Linked DNA regions of Homo sapiens: all the other regions are linked to region 4. Evidence: promoter capture Hi-C in 16 types of primary human blood cells and fetal thymus (Javierre and others, 2016). All regions are on one chromosome and are shown on one strand. Each heading gives the region's core, a stretch centred on a gene start or on the middle of the fragment in contact. The rest is flanking DNA. Distances are from core to core; before and after follow the strand shown.

Region 1 (2,897 bases), core at 170-2,669, 680 kb after region 4:
AGCCTCACACAGCTGGGGAGAGGCCAAGGATCTCGCAGTCACTAGCCAGGCTCAGGATCAGGGGCCTTTCCTTGGCTGGGCACTGGGGCTGGGTTTGGAGGAGACATTGATGGTTCAAGCTTCCTTGGGTGGGGAGGACAGTAAGCACAGAGTGAAGTGCTGGTGGGGGCCCCCCTTTGCCAGGCACCCCTCTCCCCAGAATCACTGGCTGGACATCCAGAGCTTGGGAGAAGCCAGGCACAGCAATCAGCTACTACCTCAGAGAGAGGCTCTTCAGACCCTGCGTGGGTGGCCGTCCCACAGTGAAGGGGCTGATTGCAGGGGACAGCCATGAGCAGGGGCAGAGGCTGGGAGGCTTCAGGGTCACGCTTAGCCAGGAACACCACCCAAGGGTTGAATTGCTGTGCTGAGGGTGTGAGCCATAGAGGGCTGGACACCCTTGAGGGATTGGAGAGAGTGAGGGTGATGGTGGGTGCAGGACCCACTTGGAAGGTGACCTCTGTACGCACACACACCATCACCATATGCTAGACATCCAGTTAGGACTGGATGGCAAATACCAGATTTTGAGAAGGTGGTTTAGGAATGATTGGACTCACCGGGGGCAGTCGTTCACGCCTGTAATCCCAGCAGTTCGGGAGGCCGAGGCAGGCGGATCACGAGGTCAGGAGATTGAGACCATCCTGGTAAAAACGGTGAAACCCCGTCTTTACTAAAAAATACAAAAAAATTAGCCGGGCATGGTGGTGTGTGCCTGTAGTCCCAGCTACTCGGGAGGCTGAGGCCTCAGTGATAAAGATATATTCTTTAGGATATAGGAATCTAGATTAAGATCTTTGGTGAAACCAATAGGTTTTTTGGTGGGTTTTTTGGGTTTTGTTGTCATTGTGAGACAGGGTCTCGCTCTGTCACCCAGGCTGGAGTGCAGTGGCACAATCATGGCTCACTGTGGCCTCGACCTCCCGGGTTCAAGCGATTCTCCTGCCTCAGCTTCCCAAGTAGCTGGGAATACAGGTGTGCACCACCACGCCTGGCTAATTTTCATATATTTTGTAGAGACAGGGTCTCACCCTATTGCCCAGGCTGGTCTCAAATTCCTGGACTCAAGCAATCCACCCACCTCAGACTCCCAAAGTGCTGGGACAGGTGTGAGCCACCACGCCCAGACAGGACAACTGTTTCTTGTTTCTTTTTTTTTTTTTCAAGACAGAGCCTTGCTCTCCTAGGCTGGAGTGCAGTGGCATAATCTTGGCTCACTGCAACCTCCGCCTCCCAGGTTCAAGTGATTCTCGTGCCTCAGCCTGCCAAGTAGCTGAGATTACAGGCATGCGCCACCATGCCCAGCTAACTTTTGCATTTTTAGTGGTGATGGGGTTTCGCTATGTTCTCCAGGCTGGTCTTGAACTCCTGTCCTCAAATGATCCACCCGCCTTGGTCTCCCAAAGTTCTGGGATTACAGACATGAGCCACTGTGCCCAGCCTGGACAACTGTTCTTAGTGGCAGAATAGGAGGCAGAGAGGTTGCCTCACCCTGGGCATTCCCTGACCACGGCTCCCCTCAGCACTGGGGCTGGGGGTACCCTGCTCTGGCCCTCCCCTTCCACACCGTCCCAGAACACAGCTCCTGTGTAGCACCTGGGTCTCAGGACCTCCTAGTCTGACATTGTCTTTTCCTTCCTTTGCCCCTCACCTCTTTCCCCACCCTCGTTTGTCAACCTCCCCCAAACACACACCCCTCTGTCTCCCTGTCTGGCTGCTGTGCCCTCTTCCTTCACTCCCCTAGTGCCCCCAGCAGCAGTAGCAGTGCCAAGGGTGGCGGAGCCCCATGGCCTGGGGGTGCCCAAACATACTCACCCAGTTCCACCTGTCGCTACCGCAGCCTGGCGCAGCCAGCCACCACCACCGCTCGCCTCTCCAGCGTTTCCTCCCATGACTCTGGCTTCGTCTCCCAGGACGCCACCTACTCCAAGCCCCCCTCGCCTATGCCTTCAGACATCACCAGCCAGGTGAGGGGGCGTTAGGAGGATCAGTCAGGGTGGGGTGCAGCAGCCTTATGCCAGCATCAGGCAAGCCACATGCGGGACTACTATAGCTGTTGAGACTACTATAGCTGTTGAGACTGGCCTGAAGGCCCCCAAGGCCTTTATTCTGTTCAGTATTTATATTATTATTTTCTATCTCTGCTTTTAAATTCACATATCTTTATATCTTAAATGAGTCTCTTGTAAGCAGCATAATGCCTAGATTTTCTTTTTTTATCCAATCTGACAACCTCTATCTTTTAATTGCCATTTTTAGCCCCTTTGTATTTACTGACATATTTGGACTTCTGGCTTTCTTCTTTCTATTTGTCCTGAATTCTTGTCTCTACCCTTGACTTTGTTTTTTCTTTTCTCTTATTCCCCGTCTGCTGGATTGTAAGTTATATTCTGTCTCTTTTCTTTTATAGGTTACCTTGAAATCTTACCATATGCATACTTAACACAACCCCACCTCCTGAGTAATTCAAGGCCCTTAATATATATTTTTTTACTTGTCACCCACTCCTTCTCAAACTTACAAGCTATATTATTTTCTCTTTTTTTTTACAGTACCCACAAATGACATTTTTCTTCTTAATTTCTTTATTTTATACATACAGTACTTATTTAGATTTACCCATATGTTAATACACATTTCTTGTCATTTTTTTCTTGCATCTCAAATCCTCCAAAGCTTATTTTCTTTCTTTCTGAAGTAAAAAACATCTTTTAGAAGTTCTTTTAGAATAGATCTGTAGTTGTAAACTCTCAGTTTTTGTTTGTTTGTCTGTAAACATGTTTTATTTTGTCCTCTTCTTGAAAGTTCGTTTTGCCAGGAACACTATTCTGGGGTGACAGTTGTCTTCCATCCACACT
Region 2 (3,044 bases), core at 420-2,919, 600 kb after region 4:
GAGCAGGCGGAGATGCAGTCCATTAAACAGCGCTGTTCAGGCTGTGGCTGTGGAAACTCGATTTGCTGAAGTGCCAAATGTTGTCAGGGTTTTGGGGCACGTCTTGTGGGCCTGCACTGGGGAGGGTGTGGAAACTGCTCTGGGGGACAGTTGAGGGGTACCATAACAGCAGTGAAGAGCCTCTGCTTCCCCTTCTGTCTAGAGGAGGGATTTGGGGACCTTCATCATTAGTGATGAGTCCTGATCTTACCCCATCCGGTTGCTTTCCAGAATCACATTCCTAAGTGTCCCCTGCTTAATCTTTGGTGAGCCTGAGGGTGTGCTGTGTACTTGGCAATGGGAAAACAACCATGAACAAGACAAAGCCCATCTTCTCCTGAAACTTCCTTTCTAGGATATCTAGAAAGTGCCCTCTCAGGATTTTTCAAGTATTTCCAAACAGCCCTGATCTCGAATTGGAGCTCCCTGGGATTCAAGACTATGAAAGCTTGTTAGGTTAAGCAGGAACACAGCCAGACAGGCAGGTCCTCTCCTACCAAAGTCCTCACTCATGGAAGTTAACCTCAGTGCTCGCTGCGAAGGCTCTCACTTCCAGCTAGGCAGCCCCGCGGCACAGGTTGTCGTGGAAGATTCTTAACTGTAGGAAGTCATTACCATGGGAGGAATCGCGCTAGACCCTTCACTTGTGTCTGTAGAACCCTCACGACGGTTCTCTGCGGGGAGTCGTCTTACTTCCATTTTGCATTTCTAAAAACTATGGCCTGAGGAGGTCACATGACCTGCACACAGCTAGGAGGTGGTAGAGCCCAAACCCAGAGCCAGATCTGTTTGGCACTAAAGCCTGGGCCCTTAATCGCTTCCTCACCAGGCCTGAGTCTCACCCAGCATGCTCCCAGCCCATGTCAGCAGCAGGAGGCGAGCTTGTGTGTGGTTGTATCTTCCTCCTCATTTCCTCATGATTTCACCAGGGGAAGGTTTTGTGGTCTTGTTCCAGAAGTTCTTGAGCGTGGAGAGTATGGAGAGGTGTATGTGTTTTTTGTTGTTTTTGTGGGTTTTTTGTTTTTGTTTGTTTGTTTTTTTGACATGGAATCTCACTCTCGCCCAGGCTAGAGTGCGGTGATGTGATGTCGGCTCACTGCAACCTCCACCTCCGGGGTTCAAGCAGTCCTCCTGCCTCAGCCTCCCAAGTATCTGGGATTACAGGCATGTACCACCACACCTGACTAACTTTTTGCATTTTTAGTAGAGACGGGCTTTCACCACGTTGGCCAGGCTGGTCTTGAACTCCTGACCTCAAGTGATCTGCCTGCCTTGGCCTCCCGAAGTGCTGGGATTACAGGCATGAGCCACCATGCCCAGCTGGTATGTGTACTTTGAAAAAGCTCCCCCTTCAGCCCCCAGATCCTTCGTCCACTTTTCTTATTGATCTGTAGCAGCTCTTTGTATATTTGGGACATTCACTTTGTCATCTGTGTTGCAAATGTCTTGCTCTCCCAGGATGGTTGTGATAAACCCACATGCTCCTCCCTCTCGCTGAGAGCCACTGCTCGCAGGGGACAGTGTGCTCAGGTGTTGGTGATGCAAGAGCTGGCGCAGCAGAGCCTCAGAGACCCAGCTCTGCTGCCACCACCATCTCTGTCAGTCCCACGGGTGCGTGGCCTCGCTGGGGTGTCTCGTCTGCCATTGTTCCTCAGTTCCACCGAGTGACACCTCGTTAGTCTCCACCCTCTGGCATCCTCAGTTGTCTCTGCCTTCCCATTATTCAAGATAAGTGGCTGTTTCCTCAGCACCACCTGCTCCTTGCAGACGTTATCTGAAAATTCCTTTTGTCAAAAAGAATTTGCAGGTGTCAAATTAATATTCCTGGCACTGGAGTAGAAATCCTCCCATAGCTAGAGATCTGATTGTTTTTTAAGTGAAAATGTGACCCTGATTTCCACAGTGCAGAATGCAGGGTGCGTGCTCACTGCATCCTGCTGGGTCCCTGTTTGGGAGGTGAGACTGCTGCTTCCCCTGCCCAGAAGATGCCAGTTGTTGGCTGCCTGGCAGCTGGGCAGCCGCCATGCTGCCTGAGTGAGTTCTGCCTGTAAGATGGCCATACCCCCACCTGTGAGTATCCACGGGATGGGGGCCCTCTCCATGGTCCCGATGGTGGGACCTCAGGTAGTCCACAACTCCTAGGCACAGCTGCCTCCCAGCCTGCTTTTGGAACTCTCAGGGTGATCACAGTCTCCAGAAAATCCTGGAAGGATGTCTATTCCCCTGTGAGTGAACGTGAACATCCCAGACAGGTGGCCATGACCCTGGCTTGAATCCTAGCTCTAAACCTTCCTTACCGGGGACCCTGGCCAAGGAGTTTACCCTCCCTGGGCCTGTGAAAAGGGGATAATGATGTCTACACCAGCCTCATAGGCGTGTTTAAAGAGAAAGCGTAACCCCCTCACCCAGACCCTGGCCCATTATAATGACCTGTCTGTCGTTACAAGTATGTTGGGGGAACTTGGCGTCTCACTGTGGTGAACTCCCCCACCCAGGAGCCAGGCTCTTTCTCAGTCCTGTGAGCCATCTTGATGTCCTTCAGTAATGCTTTAGAGTCTTTTTTTGTAGGTTTTATTCACTTATGATGAGTACTCTCAGTGTTTTGTAATTTTGATGTGATTCTGAATGACTTCCCTCTCTGGTTCTTCCTTCTCTACCCAGGTGACACTGAGGCCTGGTGGTTAAGAGCACGGGCTTTGGGTTCAGGAAGTCTAGGAGTCCACCTTGGGCTCTGCCACTTGATGGTTGGTAACCTAGCCTCTCTGAGCTTTAGGTTCCTTATTTGTAAACAGAAAATAATAGTGGAAGCTTGCTCCCAGGTTTGTTATAAGGATGAAATGAGATCATGAATGTCAAATGCTCCCCTTGGGACCCAGCACACATAAACCCACGATAAGCAGTAGCTCCTCCGATGCAGGAGGTCATTTCTGTAAAGGGCCTGGAGATGCACATTGAGATCAGGGCAATGGGCTCTGCATCTGCTCCGGGTCCTCCCTGCTTCTGCT
Region 3 (3,193 bases), core at 427-2,926, 580 kb after region 4:
CTGGACCCATCTCAGGTGTCAGGTTACAGCTGTGCCATCACCACTGTGAATCAGAGCAACAAAACAGCTGGAGGCAGAACAGCACTCAGCTGGAGCATTGGTGGTTCAGTGGTAGAATTCTCGCCTGCCACGCGGGAGGCCCGGGTTCGATTCCCGGCCAATGCAGCAGCTGAAAGCTTTTTGGCAGCTCCTGGAAAAAGAAAACTTGGAGAAATAAGTTAACTTGGAGGGATAAGCTAGTGCGGGCCTTCAAAGGGAGGAGCTTTTTTTACTGGGAGAAACTAGAAGACTCGGGGATACATATTTTGTGACCTCTCACTGAAATATGAGTGTTTGATTTTTGTTTTCTAATTCTAATTTTAGAAAATTTGGAAAGTAGAGAAAAATGCAAAGAAACAAGACTATCCCCAAGAGGCAATGAATGTTCAAATTTTGATGTATTTTTTCCAGTTTTTAATATATATACGTAGTTAAGATCATAGAACTTAACACAGCTTCACCTTCTGCTCTGTTTGTTTGAAGTTCACAGTGCCTCTTAATCCATAGTCAGAAAATAGAGTAACAGTTGCCTGGGTTTGAAGAAAAGGAGAATTGGGACTGACTGCTTACAGATGCCCGGTTTCTTTTTGGGGTTATGGAGATGTTCTAGAATTAAATAGAGGTGATGGGTGCACAACTTTGTGAATGTACTAAAAACTACCTAGTTGAACACTTTGAAAATGGTGAAATTTTTGTTATGTGAAATGTTATATGAATTATATCTCAATTTAAAAAAAAAAAAGTCAGTGCCTATTCCTCTAAATTAGAACCCAACAGCCCCTGCCACCTTTCTGCTTATGTGGCAAGAAGTCAAGCCCGCTAGAAAGGAACCACTCCATCCTGTGGGTCGTGGCCTCAACTAAAAACATCCCTACCAGCTGGAGCATTGGTGGTTCAGTGGTAGAATTCTCGCCTGCCACGCGGGAGGCCCGGGTTTGATTCCCGGCCAGTGCAGCCTATCTACCTTTTTAGATGGTTTTCCTAAGCATTTTTTCACACAGCTGCTTGCCCAGGAGAGTATTACCCTAACCAGGATACATTCATGCCTCTTGGCTCTGGATTTTACTGCCTCATAAACAGCATTTCAGCAGATGAAAAGCTCACTTTGTACTAGTTCCCAGAGATGGTAAGAGCTAATTTGGCGCCTTTACATCCACTCTCAGCCCTGCTTAGCTTGTAACTAACTAATCACCAGTCTTTTACCAAGGTGCCCAGGAGACAGTCCCTGCCAGCCGCAGGACAGATAGCTTCGCTGGTCAGGGACAAGTTCATCACAGCCTCTCCTGCTCACTCTTCCCTCTCTGCTCCCTCTGTTCCCACTCTGGTCCACCTGGCTGGAGACAGGACCTCATGCCTGGCCTTCTTTGTTTACTTGTGCTGATCCGCCGACAGCACCACGTTCCTCATGGCACACCTCCGGGCAAGAACCTTTGTGTGTGTGCATATTTGCACCCCTGCCCCACCTCCGCATCTTCTCCCTCCTCCTCTAACCACAGGACCTCCAGTCAGGGCAGCCCCTCATCTGTGCCTCTTCACTTGCTCCGACTCCCCCTTGGCCTGCCACTTGGGGCCATCCACAGCACAGTGCCGTTTCCCTGGTTCTGAGCTCTTATGGCACTTTGCGTGTCCAGCCTGGTCCCCTCCAGGACGTGACCTGATTGTCTCAGGAATGGCAGCAGAGATTCTGGGGTCTGAACAACCTGCCTATGAGTCCTGGCTCTGCTGACTTTATATCTGTTCCCCTCAGACAGCTGCCTACCCTTTCTGAGCCTCAGATTTCTTATTTGTTAAGTAGGGTAACAATAGTAATACCTAACCTATAGTGTGGTTGTGTGTTTCAGACAAAATTTTTGCATGTAAATCGCTTAGCACATGACAAACACTAACGGGTGCTTCAGTGTTGTTTTAATACATGTTTATGGCTGGGCATGGTGACTCATGCCTGTAATCCCAGCACTTTGGGAGGCTAAGGCAGGCGGATCATTTGAGGTCAAGAGTTCGAGACCAGCCTGGCCAACATGGTGAAACCCCGTCTCTACTAAAAATACAAAAATTAGGGGCCAGACGCGGTGGCTCACACCTGTAATCCCAGCACTTTGGGAGGCTGAGGTGGGCGGATCACGAGGTCAGGAGTTCGAGACCAGCCTGGCCAGCATGGTGAAACCCCATCTCTACTAAAAATACAAAAAATTAGCCAGTCATGGTGGTGCATGCCTATAGTCCAAGCTACTTGGGAGGCTGAGGCAGGAGAATTGCTTGAACCTGGAAGGCAGAGGTTGCAGTGAGCCGAGATCACACCACTGCAGCATAGGCAACAGAGCAAGACTCCATCTCAAAAAAAAAAAAACCTGGTAGAATTTTTTAAACAAGACCCACAAGCAAAAATTATTAAAAAAAAAAAAAATTGAAACAAACCATATTTAAATTAAAAACTGAAGGTGGTGTGGTGGTGCGTATCTTTAATCCCAGCTACTCAGTTTGCTGAGGTACAAGGATCCCTTGAGCCCAGGAATTTAAGTCCAGCCTGGGCAATATAGCGAGACCCCATCTCAAAACAAAATAAAATTGGTGTAACTGAAAAAAGGTTAAAAGTTACAAGGCAAGGCCCAGACTGGGAGAAGATATTTGCAATGTATTTTGTCATTAAAGAGTTAGTATCCAAACACAAGAAAGAGCTCTTTTAAGTCAGAAGAAAGAAATGGAAGAAAAATGTGAAAGTCCATGACAGGGCCATTAATCCTTTATGTAACAAATGGGCCAGGTGCAGTGGCTCATGCCTGTAATCCCAATACTTTGGGAGGCTGAGGCGGGAGGATTGCTTAAAGCCAGGAGTTTGAGACCAGCCTGGGCAACAAAGTGAGAGACCCTGTCTCTACAAAAATAATAATTTTAAAAAATTAGCTGGGCGAGGTGGCACACACCTTTAGTCACAGCTACTTGGGAGACTGAGGCAGGAGGATCTCCTGAGCCCAGGAGCTCGAGGCTGCAGTGAGCCATGATCACGCCACTACAGCCTGGGGGAGAGAATGAGACCCCATTTCTAAAAAACAAACAAAAAATGCTACAATAGTTCTTATGGTGGGTGTCATTTTAAACACCTAACAAATGTTAGCTCATTCATTGTCATAGCAAGCTTAGGGTATAGGTACTGTCA
Region 4 (3,122 bases), core at 113-2,612:
CATCCCACACAGATCTGGGACAGGGGCCTGAATGACAGGTGTCAGAGCCCACAAGGCTGAGCCTGGCCCCCTGGGGGGCTGTGCAGTGCAGTGGTTAAGAACTTGTCTTCTGGAGACAGCATCTGTCTTAGCCTTTCCCGTTGGCCTCCCTTTGGGGTCAGCCCCTCCAGGAGCCATTAGCTACCCGAGGGGAGGGTAGCTACAGACACCACAAAATGTCTGAGATGCCAGGATATTTTGGATGCTCATCTTAGCCAGGTCTGTGCGTAGAGAGGGAAATCAGATCACTTATTTTTTCGGAGTAACAGAAACAGAGTCTCTAGTGATATCAAAAGCCTCTAAAGGAGGACCACCCTTTATGCCTGAGTCAGACCACCACAGACACTTGGAATCCCAGTGCTGGGGGCTACCTCCAAAGGTCATTTGGTCTGGCCCTTGCTTTTTGGGTGAGTCAGTGTCAAGACCACACAGAGCAGAGGGTTAGTCACTGAGGCACTTAGGGTGGTGCCTCCCCCTACCCAGAGATGAAGTCACCAAGAGTACCCAGGATTATCACTATGAGGGAACAGGTCTGGGACTGGCACCCCAACGCTGCCCGCCACCACACCCACTGCTGCTGTATTGGGAAACCTACATGCCCACGGCGGCTGGAAAATGGACAAAGGAAGCAGGGGGGTGTTCAGGGCCCCCAATGCCATTTTCCACTCCTGCTCCCAGCCAATCAAGCTGGGGAGGCCACGTTTCCCTTCAGGATCCCCTAATTTATCCCAGCCTCCAGCAGGGTAAGGGGGCTAACCTAGCATTCAACAAAAGGGGAAGAGGAGGAAAGAAATGAGTGGTCTTCTGAGACCTGTGGCTGGAGCAGCTGAAGGCAGGGGAGGTGGGGGAGATGGCAGGGGGAACCTGGAGGCCTTCCCAGCCCAGGCCACCTCTCTGAGAAAGCTCCCACTTGCTCAGAATAAAGGTGCAAATGCGGGTGGGCTCTGGGTCATCTATGTTAGGGAAGAAAGTTACTGACAGTTGTGCCCAGAGCAGCCGGATGTCTCCCAAACCCGGGACCACTACCCCAGCAGGCTCTGCGACCAGACCACCTCCTGAGGGCAAACGTACACCTGCCCGCATTCAGCGCCGCCCCCTGCCCCCTTCACCGCAGGTCCCCTGGGTGCCAATGGGCACAGAAGTTGGGAGCTTTACTGACCGTCTGCGTCAAAGTGCTTCCATATTTCCAGGAACTGGGACGCCGTCAGCTCGGCCAGGTGCAGGTAAGGGGGCTGCTGCTGCGGGCCAGCCATGGCGAGCCGCTCGGAGACCTCAGCCTGCACCGCTCCCGCTCCGCGCCGGCTGGGCTCTGGCACTCGCGCTGGGGTTGTGCGCCACGCTGCCCTTATATACGCTCTGGAGCCTGCGCCTGCGCCCGGCCGCCAGAAGGGGGCGCGCGCGCTCAGGGAATCCGACCGGGGCGCGGCGCGGCGGGGGCGGCGGCGCGAGAGGCTCGGCCCGGACTCCTAGAGGGCCCTTACCTCTGCGCTGAGACCCCTCGGCGCGGGGCCAGGGACACCCGGAGGATTTTCGGTGAAAATGAGGGAGAGGCTGCCCTTGCCTTCCCTCCCGACCGTCTTGAGTACATCCACCACTTATTATTGCTGGCAGTAGCAATAATAATAACAGCAGTAACAACACTAATAGTAATACTAACACAAACTTGACAAATATTTAGCACTCGGGCTTCGGAGTTCACTAGGTCTCTGTCGTGCCTCCTCTCTTCTGATCCTTCCACAGCAGGAAGAGCTGGGACCACTTTTCTGATGAGGTACTTGTGACTTCAGATGATTAAGTGACTGGCCCAGCAAATTAGTGGCAGGGCTACAATTTGAACTCAGCACTCTTTCCACGCCGCACGTGGCTCCTTCATGGGGCTCAGTCTTGCAGAGCAGCCAAGAGTTCTCAAGGCTTTAGTGGGGAGCAGCTGGAATCAGCAGTGCCCCGGGAGGATTCCGATGGAAGTGGTGTGGGGTGGGGGTGGGGGGCTTCCACTGTCTGTTTGGGTCTTCGTATATCCGTCCCCTCGGAGCCTCCCTCCACCCCTGGTACCTGCCTCACGCTGGCCATGCTCTGGGGGGCTTTTAGACATTTGGCCAGGGGGTGGCAGAACTAGATCAACCCGTACCAGGTCTTAACCACGCCCACCTAGGGACATCGTGGGAATGTGCCTGCTCCAGTGGACAGAGAACAACGTCCAACTCTGTCTTGGGGATGTTCTGAGCTGGTCTCAGAGAAAATAGACGCAGCTACTGAGCGCACATCCTGAGGGCAGCAGACAGGACTCCCCAGCAGGGAGCTGGGCCCTCTCCCCATTCTCTCCTGCGGTCTGAGCCCTTAGGGGTCTGTCCTGGCCTTGTGGTGTGGTAAGGTAAGACACATTACCCACAGAGTGACAGCATCATCCCTCCTTTCTCCCCTCTCCTGCTACGGAGTGACTGAGACATGAATTGGCGATCTTTAACATGTGCTAATGAGTGTTAGCTGAACCACCTTCCAAGAGGAGAGTGAAAGGCAAGGAGGTAAGTGAGAATGAAAAGGAGGTCGCTGGGGGAGAGGGGAACCCAGGAGGAGACAGAGAGAGGGTTGTCCCTTGGAGAGAGGGCCAAGCCCAGAGCGAGTCTCAAAGGGGCAATAGAGAATGCAGGTTCCAAAACCACTTGTTCTTTGCCTAGGGTGAATGTGTTTAGAGTTACTTGCAGGAACAGACTGGGGGGAGAAGTCATCAAAAGCTAGCTTTAGAGGTACCCATCCACCTTGCTGAGAGATTCACCAAAGTCCCTAGGGAGGCAGGATGACTCAGTGGTTAAGAGTAGGCACTCAAGAATCAGGCTGCTTGGGTGTGAATCCCAGAATAAGCTGTGTGACCTTGAGCAAATTATATAACCTGTCTCTGCCTCAGTTTTTCTCTTCTGCAAAATGGGCATGTGGGCATACGCCTTTTAGAATTGTTGGCTGGGTGCCGTGGCTCATGCCTGTAATCCTAGCACTTTGGGAGGCCGAGGTGGGCAGATCACGAGGTTAAGAGATTGAGATCATCCTGGCCAACATGGTGAAACCCAGTCTCTACTAAAAAAAAAAAA
Region 5 (2,827 bases), core at 210-2,709, 570 kb after region 4:
ACTAGGCTATATGGTAGAGCCTATTGTCCCTAGTCTACAAACCTGCACAGCATGTGACTGCTGAATAGTTAGGCAGTTGTAACACAGTGGTATGTGTGTACCCCAATATATCTGAACATAGAAATAGTATAGTAAAAATATAACATTATCATCTTACGGGTCCACTGTGGAATATGCAGTCTGTTGTTGACCAAAATGTCCTTATGTGGCACATAACTGTATTTATTACCCAGTGGCTCAAGGTAATTTTTGGAGTGCAGGTCAGAATTCCACCCAGCTTGGCTGTTTATCAGCAGTGGGACCCTGTTTAAATTGTTTAATTCCGGGGTCACAGGCTGGCCCCTGGGGGCTGTGACCTACACGCAGACCTGTTTGGTTTGGCCTGGATCACAAAGTATTTTAAATTGAGAAATTTCACAGTGAAATTCAGGTTTCTGGATTATCTTACGGACTTGGGAGATGTGGCTTTGGGGGCCCGCATTCCTGCAAAGCAAATCGTCGGGAGCTTTGCCACCTGTTGGCAGATTAACCAGAGCCTGTTTTACCTCCTGGCTTCCCCCATATCTCCTGCCTGGCCCGTGTGGGCATTTGAGTTTATGATCTCTGATTTAACCTCTTTGTGCCTCAGTTTTCTTATTTTAAAAAAAAGCCCCTTGAAAACATTATGCTAAGTGAAAGAAGCCAACCATAAAAGGCCACATATTGTGTGATTCTATTTGTATAAAATGGCCAAAATAGGCAAATCTATAGAAACAGAAAGTAGACTCGGGCTTGCCTAGGGCGCGGGGGAATGGGGAGTGACTGCCAGTGGGTGCAGGGTTTCTTTTGGGGATGGTAAAAAAATGTTCTACAATTGACGGTGGTGATGGTTGCACAGCTTCGTGAATATACAAAAGGCTGCTGACACCTACACTCTAAAAGAGTGAATTTATGGTATGTGAATTGTGTCCCAATATTTAAATTAGTGCTGTTTTGTTACAGTCTGAGGGAAGCACTTATTCAGTAGTCACAACTACTGTCACCCGAGATCAAAACAAGCCTCCTGCTGTCACTGACTCTTGCTTCTCCTTTGTAGTTTTTTCCACTGGTTGGATCCACTGTATGCTCAGTACATGCTCATTCCTACGTCATATCTGCTCATTTCTAATCAGTTCATTCCTAGGTCCAACCTAGGTTGGTTGGTGGGTGCCCAGCCAACATTTATGGAATGAGCACAACCTCGTGTGCTATGTATAAGATCACAGCTTGTCTCTGATTCTGACTTTGCACTAATACTGTTATTTGAGCATGTGCAGTACAGAGCACAGAATGCAGTTACCTAATTTAATTCTCTAAAAGCCCTGTAAAGTCATTGTCATGATTAACCCACCTACAGCTGAGGATGTTCCCTCTGAACACATGGGAACCTGAGTTCAGTGGCTAAAACCTCTGCCACCTAGGACAGAGGTTGGGACATAGGGCCATCACCAAATGACATGGGATTGGAGTTAAATGAAATCATGTGCCTGGCACACAGTGGGCACCCAGCTGGTGGTAGCTGTGCTATTTGGGGAGGGGCTAGTCTAATATAGTGGATAAGATTTTAGATCTTGGGGTTAGAAAAGCCTAGATTTGATTTTTAGATCCATCATCTACAACTTGCATGACTTTGTGTATATTTCTTAACTTCTCTGAGCCTCAGTTTCCACAAACTGTAAAATGGGTGTAATGGTACTTAACTCAGTGGCTTGTTTTAAGGTTTCAATTAGACCCTGTATGTAAACATGCAGCACGTTGCCTGGCAAATAGTAAGTACTCAGCTGATGGTTACTCACTGTGTCCTGCGTTCACAGAAGACCAGCGCTAGAGCCTCATTTCAAAACATCTCAAGTAGGCACCTCCTCTGTACTCCCTGTGTATGGAAGGAGTGCCTTGGCGATGACCGAGCACTGTGTGAAAGTGTATAGAGAAAGCTACGTTTCACTTGGGGGCCTTAGTTCTGCACAAGGGAATTGCCATCTGTAATTGGGTGCAATTGGTTTGCAGCTGAAGTGGCTTAGGGAGATGGGAGGGAGGGACTGTGACATAGTTGAAGGGATATGGACTTGGTAGATGTCAAGGGTTCAGACCTTTGGTGACCGTAGGAAAGGGGCTTGATTTACTGTTTCAGATCTGGAAGATGGGAGTGAAATAATAATAGCTACAGCAGGAGGTATCGTCGGGAATAACTGACCCCTGGAATACTCAGCAGAGTGTGAGTGCTTAGGAAGTGGTCAACTCAATAGTCCTCATGTGACCTGTGACAGTCTCTTGCGACTGTCACTGTGCTGTGGTACAGAGTTAAGCTAAGGGGTCCTGTGGCTGTGCTGGATGGCCCCAGGCTCTCCCTTGGCTCATGAAAGTCCAGATGTGTCTTGCAGTGTCCATGGCTGCTTCTCCTGTCAGGTAGTCAGTGTGGCAGTCTTTGAGACATTGAGGGTGGCGTCAAGAGCATGATGTTGGCCCCCCTTGGGGCTTGTATCTTCTGGGGAATGGGTGTTCCTGCCATCCTGCAATGCCACTGGCCAGCTGAGAACCCAGGCTCTGAGCAGCCTCTAGAGGACACCTCTCCAGCCAGGGTTCTTTAGCACTTTTTGGAGGAAACCAGGCAGAAGTGGATCCCTGCTCTGGTGTATAAGACAGCGATGTCCATGCCCTTCACATTAGTGAAGGTCTCCAGGGATTTGTGATCGTGAGAGTTTCTGGGCCAGATACTAACTTCAAAACTAGTTCAGCCTCAGATCCCCCACCTCTGGCTCCCAACCTGTAGATGAAAGGAGGGATAGTGTGGTCTTTTGAAGAGACACTA
Region 6 (3,198 bases), core at 520-3,019, 660 kb after region 4:
GACAGGGTCTGCGAAGGAGCTGTCAGCATTTCCTTTGTGACGGCTCGTTCCCAGCCGGGGTGCTAAGCTGGCTCTGGCTGCCCCCGACTGAAGGCCCCTGGGACTTAGACCTGTGGCCCTTCCCTCAGGTCCCCACGTGGACCGGGTAGGGGCAAGGAGCAGGCGTGTCCTCACGGCTCATGCCTGTTCCCCCACAGGAGAGCCAGAACCTGTTCTGCTGCCTGTACCGCTCCTGGTGCCACAACCCAGTCACCACGGTGTCCCTCTGCTTCCTCACCCAGAACTACCGGCACGCCTATGACCTCATCCAGAAGTTGTATCCTTCCTCTCACTGTGGTTGGGGTTGAGCCTCTGAGGGGCAGGAAGGGGCCGGCTGCCCCCTTTCCACCCAACAGGCGGGCCCAAGTGCCATGCTCCTGTCCCCACCCCTCCACTCAGCCTCAGGGCTTGTGACATCAGGGCTGCCAGGACACTGGGAGGGGAGGGACGTATTTGGGAGAGCGAGATTGGCAGCAAAGAGGGGCTCTTGGAGGGGGAGCTGGCCCGGGAGAAACCCTGTGGGTTGGGATTGGGACTGAGTAGGCCCAGCCCGGCAGGTGCCAGCGGGTGATGCTGGACCATCTTGCTGGGGTGGGAGAGAACCCCAGCTCCTGCCCCTGGGAGAAGGTGGCTGCCCTCTGCTCATTGTAGTTCCTCCTGGGCCTGGTGTGGGGGTGGGGGAGAAGGCCTGGAGCTGGGAATATGGGTGGATGGCTGGGTGAGCCTGCAGGCTTCAGCCCAGGCGTGGGCCTTCGGGGGCCACAGAGCTAGAGCCCGACAGGCTTGAGGATGACACACTGGGGAGAAGCAGGCTGGGCAGAGGCCTCAGAAGCAGGAGGCACCCATTCTCACCTCAGCACTGCGCTCATCAAAAGGCATCCAGAGTTAGATGTTTTGTTTTTTGAGGTGGAGTCTTGCTTTGTCACCCAAGCTGGAGTGCAGTGGGGCGATCTTGGCCCATTGCAACCTCCGCCTCCTGGGTTTAAGTGATTCTCCTGCCTCAGCCTCCCAGGTAGCTGGGATTACAGGCGTTCACCACCATGCCCGGCTAATTTTTGTATTTTTAGTAGAGACAGGGTCTCACCATGTTGGCCAGGCTAGTCTCAAACTCCTGACCTCAAGCGATCTGCCCATCTCGGCCTCCCAAAGTGCTGGGATTACAGGTGTGAGCCACCGCGCCTGGCCAGATTTTTTTTAAAACACCAGTAAGCAAACTAGCCCCATCCATGGGTGCCTGACATGTAACCCAGGATTGGAGTGCTATTTAGAAGGCAACATGACCAGCCAGGAGTTGGGAGTAAGGAAGAAGGGACCAGGAGGTGCCTCAGTGGAGGGCTAGGTGTGGCCCTGCCTGGCTCCCCACAGTGTGCCTGCTTCCCTTCTACAACCTGGATTTGCTCCTCTCAGCCACTTCTGTCACCCAGAGACTGGCAGGCCACTGCCCAGTGCCGCAAGCTTGCTGCAGCCCTGCTGGCAGGAAAGGAGAGAACCCTTCCTGCCCAGCCCTCCCCCAACGGGCTGCAGCGCTGTGATAAGAGCCTCTCCCAGCCCGGGAGGGTGCAGAGGAGACAGCTGCTAGAGTGGAACCTGGAACTCCTGAACAGGGGAGTTCCATTTAGGACAGAAAGGCGAGGAACAGGGAAGAGCCTGGTGTCCTTTGTGCGCCAAATCCTGCTTCACCACAACCAGGCTCTGTGCACAGGAAGCCAGGTGCAGGGGGGGAGGGCGTGTGGTGCTGTGAGCTGCGGCTGTGCTGGCCCAGCAGACAGACTTTCCTTGACTGCACACCCAGTGGGGACCTGGAGGTCACCGTGGACTTCCTCGCAGAGGTGGACAAGCTGGTGCAGCTGATTGAGTGCCCCATCTTCACATGTAAGAACCACCTCCCACCACACCTCGCGCCATGAGTCCAAGGCTGCCCTGGAGTGGGGTGGGTGAAGTCAAGCTCCAGTTGGTCTCTTTTGGCTGGGGAGGGAGGAAGAGCAGTCACCCCAGGGAAGCTTCTGGAATGTTGAGAATGTGAGACTTATAATCCCAGCACTTTGGAGGCTGAGGCTGGAGCATCTCTTAACGGCAGGAGTTCGAGACCAGCCTGGGCACCATAGTGAGATCTCATCTGCACAAAATTTTTTAAAAATTAGCCAGGCATGAGAGTGCATGCCTATAGTCACCACTACTCAGAAGGCTGAGGTAGGAGGATCACTTGAGCCCAGGAGGTTGAGACTACAGTGATCTGTGACTGTACCACTGCACTCCAGCCTGGGTGACAGAGCAAGACCCTGCCTCAGAAAAAAAAAAAAAAAAAAGACTGGGATGATAGGCCTGCAAGGCCAGCCAGAGCAGGGCTGGGGCACGTGGCATCAGAACCTGGATCCTGCCTGTATCCCTCACAGTGAGTCTCCTGGACATGAGCCAGCGCTGACAGCAGAACCCCCTTGAAGGCTGATACCAGGCCCCTGGGCTGTCCCCAGCCACCCCTCCGGGTCTGCTGCCTCTGCTCTGGCTCTCTGAAGTTGTGGGTCCCGAGTCCCTCTGCAGGTGCTCCTGTTGGCCCAAGAGCCATGCCTGTACCTCTCTGAAAGAAGAGTTGGCATTTGCTGGGAGCCAGTGGGCAGGAGCTGCCTGCTTAGTAACACCCAGGCTGAATGTGCAAAAGTGGCAGCTGGCTGGGGCGAGCACAGCTCTCAGCACCTCAACATACACACTTTGAATGACGCTTATGTGCTTATAATGTGCAGAGAAGCCAGGAGGCCACTCTGCTGGTGGCCACCTTCCCTGCCAAGCTGGCCACCCGGCCTCTCCCACTCTCTGGCAGCGTCTCTGACCCGCCCGGCCTAAGCCCATCAGCCTGAGCCCTGGAGCCTGAATTGAATGCAGGGGCTGAAGAACACCCGTTCCCATCCCCTCCTGAGCCCCCTTCAAAGGGCAGCCTCATCAAGCAGCAGGGTGCCGTAGGAACTGATGCCCTGGAGACAGAAGAGCAGGGGGGAGACCCTGCTCTCCGCAGAGTGCGCTAAAGCCTGTCCCAGGTGTGCCCAGCGTGACACTTCCCCGAGGGCCTCCCAGGGACACAGGCACCCACACGGCCGCCTGAGGTCAGATCCTAAAAAGACCCTGCTCCTGCTGCTGGTCTGTCCTGACTCATCTCTCCAGTTGTAC
Region 7 (3,235 bases), core at 235-2,734, 550 kb after region 4:
CCTGAGTAGCTAGGACTACAGGTGTGTGCTGCTACACTCAGCTAATTTTGTTGTTGTTGTTGTTGTTGTTGTTTGTAGAAACAGGCTCTCGCTATGCTGCCCAGGCTGGTCTCAAACTCCTGGGCTCAAGTGATCTTCCTGCCTCACTCACCCAAAGCACAGGTGTGAGCCACTGAGCCCAGCCTCTGATATTTTTCAATAAGAACTAGTTATTTTTTTAAATACTTACTCATAGTAAAACCAAATTTTACCTATATAAAAGTATATGAAATTGAAAATAAGTCTCCAGAATCCCATTTTCCCACCCTAACATAACTACTGGTAACAGTGTGGTATATATTCTTACAGTCTCTTTCTATACATCCATAGACATATTCTTCACAAAAAAGAGCTCATACTATATATGCATTTCTGGAACCTGCTTTCTTCCACTTAAAATATCATCAACATCAACACCTTTCATTTCGATGTGTATTGCTCTACACCTCTGGTTTTTTTTTTGAGACGGAGTCTCACTCTGTTGCCCAGGCTGTGGACTAGAGTGACACGATCTTGGCTCACTGCAACCTCTCCTTCCCGGGTTCAAGTGATTCTCCTGCCTCAGCCTCCCGAGTAGCTGGGACTACAGGTGCGCACCACTGCGCCCAGCTAATTTTTCTGTTTTTTTTAGAAATGGGGTTTCACCATGTTGGTCAGCCTGGTTTCGAACTCCTGACCTTGTGATCCACCCGCCTCAGCCTCCCAAAGTGCTAGGATTACAGGCATGAGCCACCGCACCAGGCCCCGCTCTACCTCATCCTTTCTAGTGGCTACACAATATTCCACTGAAATGAGAAAACTGTAATTTGTTTAACTAATCTTCTACTAATAATACATTCGAATTGTTTCCCTTGTTTTGCTATATAAGAAATGCTTTCTGTTCTTGCTTTGTTTCGCCATGGGTAATAATGGAGGATGGCAGAACCCAGGACGCTGTTCTGAGATTGGCCATGAGCAAAGAAGGAGCTGCCTAAGCTTCAGCCCTCCTACTGGCAGCACTCACCCATCTCCACATCTCCCTATGTGCGCTTCTCAGGAGACAGTCCAGCACCTGCACTTAGATTCATAGAGATCCCAGATATAGAATCACCTGAACTAGAGAAAGCTAGGAGAGGTACAGGGGAGAGAGGGTGGGCTGGTTTGGACAGGTTCCCCAGGAGCAAGAACAGCATGATCATGTGCACTATTTCTGCCCCCAACCTGCTATGGAGCCTTGGGCAGGTCTCTAGGTGGCAGGTGATGAATTAGCCTTTCAGCATGACAGGATCCTCTGTTTTCTCTTCCAGGGCACGTTCTCATTTGAATTTCAGCCCCTGAAAGCTGGAGAAACCTTCGGAAGACTAACTTTGCACAACACTGACTTGGGTTACTACCAATATGAGCTCTATCTGAAAGCCACGCCAGCACTTCCGGAAAAGCCTGTTCACTTCCAGACTGTCCTTGGCAGCAGCCAAATCATCCTTGTGAAGTTCATCAATTACACACGGCAGAGGACAGAATACTACTGCAGGGTGAGTGGCCCCTGCTCTACCTTCTGCCCTTCCCTCACATGAACGCTGGGTTCAAAAACAATGAGAGGAGACACAGGGAGCATGAATGTGAGACTCAGAGAGACTCAGGTGCTTCGTTGTCATGGTGACACCTGCCTCAGAGGCCTGAATCTAGCCTGGAAACTCCCAGCTAGAAACAAACAGCACCAGGCCTGGGTTCTTCCATTACAGACTTTCTGTCTTAACAAGCTGTGATGGAGTGTAGGGGAGTTTTGTTTCACACAGCACGCCCAGTGATCCACAGAGGGAGACAGTATAGCTTAGTAGTCATGGTATCGGCTGTGGAATCAAACAGACATGGGTTTGAGTCCTGGCTTCACCACTTACTCTTTGTATGAATAATTTGCTTAAGCTCTCTAAGCTTATTTATAAATGGGGATAATACCCCCAACCTTGCAGGATTGCTATAAGGATTTTAAATATGTATCTAAAGCCATTTTCTTAGAGCCTAGCCTATAGTAAGTGCTCCATATACATTAGCTGTTACATCAGTTGGAATATAGGTTCAACTACTAAAACAGAAACCCAAAGCTAGACACAGTGGTTCACATCTGCAATCCTAGCACTTTGGGAGGCTCAGGTGGGAAGATCGCTATAGCCAGGAGTTGAAGACCAGCCTGGGCAACATAGCGAGACCTCATCTCTATTTAAAAACATAAAATAAAATTCTAAAAAACAGAAACCACAAATAACAGCAAATTAGGTGTTGGTTTCTCTCACAAATAACAGTCTGGGCATAAGCAGTTTGAGCTGGAATGGCAGCTCGCTGACACCAGGCACCCAGACATCTTCTGTCCCGATGCTCTGCCCTCTGAAGGGAGCTGTTTTGGTCCACGTGGGCCAAGATGGTTTATCAGGACATCCACATTCCAGCCAGCTACAAGGGAAGAGGGGACAGTTGTATATATCACCTCTACTAATATTCCATGGAACAAAACTTCACAGGACCACACCTATCAACAAAGGAGCTAGGAAAGGTAGCTTTTGTACTGGGCAGTCACATGCCCAGGTAAAATCAGAGATCTTGTGGCTGTAGCCAAGAGGCAGAGGCTCTTGATCAGTTGTATCAGCCAAGAGATGCTAGGTTAGGTGCAGTAGCAATCACAGGGGCTTAAGATGAAGGCTTGTTTCTCATTTGAGCAATTTTCCAGAGAGGCCAGCAGGGGACCCTGCTCATCTCAGTCTCTTGGGATTCAAGCACCATCTCAAATATTTCCAGTACAGTATTAGAGTGGTGAAAGGACCCTGACAGGAGTTAAATTGGCAATGAAAGGCTCTAGCATGGAAGTGACACCTTTCACTTCTGCTCACAGCTAGTTGTCTGGAACTAGCACCACCCATCTGCAAGGAACCAGAATGTTTGGTCTTCCATGTACATGGAAGGAAAGAACCGAATATAGGGGATCAGCATCCATGACTGCCCTATTAACGTAATGTGGCTGTGTGTCTCAGTACACATTATTAACATCTCTTTGCCTTTGTTTCTTTGTAGCAAAATAGAAATAATAATTAGTAATACCTACCCTACAAGGGAGTTATAAGGACACAACTTTATAACATTCCCAGTCTCACACAGACATAGTTGCTTGATGTCCAGGAGTGGAGGGGCTGGGGTAGACTTGAGCTCCTGGTGTGCTCTTCAGGAT

What was found. The method cuts DNA at HindIII sites, captures the fragments that hold promoters and counts their contacts. A CHiCAGO score of 5 or more calls a contact.
Region 1: a fragment that was not itself captured here is called in contact with the fragment with the promoter of CALB2 in region 4 in 3 of 17 cell types (M0 macrophages, megakaryocytes and M1 macrophages); the score reaches 7.0 in M0 macrophages.
Region 2: a fragment that was not itself captured here is called in contact with the fragment with the promoter of CALB2 in region 4 in 2 of 17 cell types (M0 macrophages and M1 macrophages); the score reaches 6.5 in M0 macrophages.
Region 3: a contact is called between a fragment that was not itself captured here and the fragment with the promoter of CALB2 in region 4, in 2 of 17 cell types (megakaryocytes and M1 macrophages). The highest score is 6.4, in megakaryocytes.
Region 5: a fragment that was not itself captured here is called in contact with the fragment with the promoter of CALB2 in region 4 in 3 of 17 cell types (megakaryocytes, erythroblasts and M0 macrophages); the score reaches 10.2 in megakaryocytes.
Region 6: a fragment that was not itself captured here is called in contact with the fragment with the promoter of CALB2 in region 4 in 1 of 17 cell types (M0 macrophages); the score reaches 6.0 in M0 macrophages.
Region 7: a fragment that was not itself captured here is called in contact with the fragment with the promoter of CALB2 in region 4 in 5 of 17 cell types (megakaryocytes, endothelial precursors, M0 macrophages and 2 more); the score reaches 10.8 in megakaryocytes.

Annotation. Positions count from the first base shown.
Region 1 is chr16:70,673,415-70,676,311 of GRCh38, reverse strand. MTSS2 (MTSS I-BAR domain containing 2) reads left to right here. Exons shown (of 15, transcript NM_138383.3): 11 at 1,784-2,006. Among named protein-coding and RNA genes, the nearest start is that of MTSS2, 11 kb to the left of the region's middle. The HindIII fragment of the contact is 2,596 bases long and covers 122-2,717 here.
Region 2 is chr16:70,757,662-70,760,705 of GRCh38, reverse strand. All of the region lies in intron 12 of VAC14 (VAC14 component of PIKFYVE complex), which reads left to right. All of the region lies in intron 2 of VAC14-AS1 (VAC14 antisense RNA 1), which reads right to left. Among named protein-coding and RNA genes, the nearest start is that of VAC14-AS1, 4.1 kb to the right of the region's middle. The HindIII fragment of the contact is 2,360 bases long and covers 490-2,849 here.
Region 3 is chr16:70,776,011-70,779,203 of GRCh38, reverse strand. All of the region lies in intron 9 of VAC14 (VAC14 component of PIKFYVE complex), which reads left to right. TRG-GCC3-1 (tRNA-Gly (anticodon GCC) 3-1) reads left to right here and starts at 923; the gene lies at 923-993. It overlaps TRG-GCC2-4 (tRNA-Gly (anticodon GCC) 2-4), which reads left to right and starts at 95; the gene lies at 95-165. The HindIII fragment of the contact is 2,996 bases long and covers 179-3,174 here.
Region 4 is chr16:71,356,963-71,360,084 of GRCh38, reverse strand. CALB2 (calbindin 2) reads right to left here and starts at 1,362. Exons shown (of 11, transcript NM_001740.5): 1 at 1,199-1,362. The coding sequence starts at 1,292. RefSeq lists a silencer at 1,334-1,563 and an enhancer at 666-1,631. The HindIII fragment of the contact is 14,542 bases long and covers 1-3,122 here.
Region 5 is chr16:70,792,258-70,795,084 of GRCh38, reverse strand. All of the region lies in intron 1 of VAC14 (VAC14 component of PIKFYVE complex), which reads left to right. Among named protein-coding and RNA genes, the nearest start is that of TRG-GCC2-5, 4.2 kb to the right of the region's middle. The HindIII fragment of the contact is 6,132 bases long and covers 1-2,827 here.
Region 6 is chr16:70,694,257-70,697,454 of GRCh38, reverse strand. VAC14 (VAC14 component of PIKFYVE complex) reads left to right here. Exons shown (of 19, transcript NM_018052.5): 16 at 198-316; 17 at 1,832-1,911. Among named protein-coding and RNA genes, the nearest start is that of MTSS2, 9.8 kb to the right of the region's middle. RefSeq lists enhancers at 1-310, 1,137-1,963, 1,964-2,789, 2,790-3,198. The HindIII fragment of the contact is 545 bases long and covers 1,497-2,041 here.
Region 7 is chr16:70,808,098-70,811,332 of GRCh38, reverse strand. It overlaps HYDIN (HYDIN axonemal central pair apparatus protein), which reads left to right. Exons shown (of 86, transcript NM_001270974.2): 85 at 1,326-1,550. Among named protein-coding and RNA genes, the nearest start is that of VAC14, 8.6 kb to the right of the region's middle. The HindIII fragment of the contact is 936 bases long and covers 1,017-1,952 here.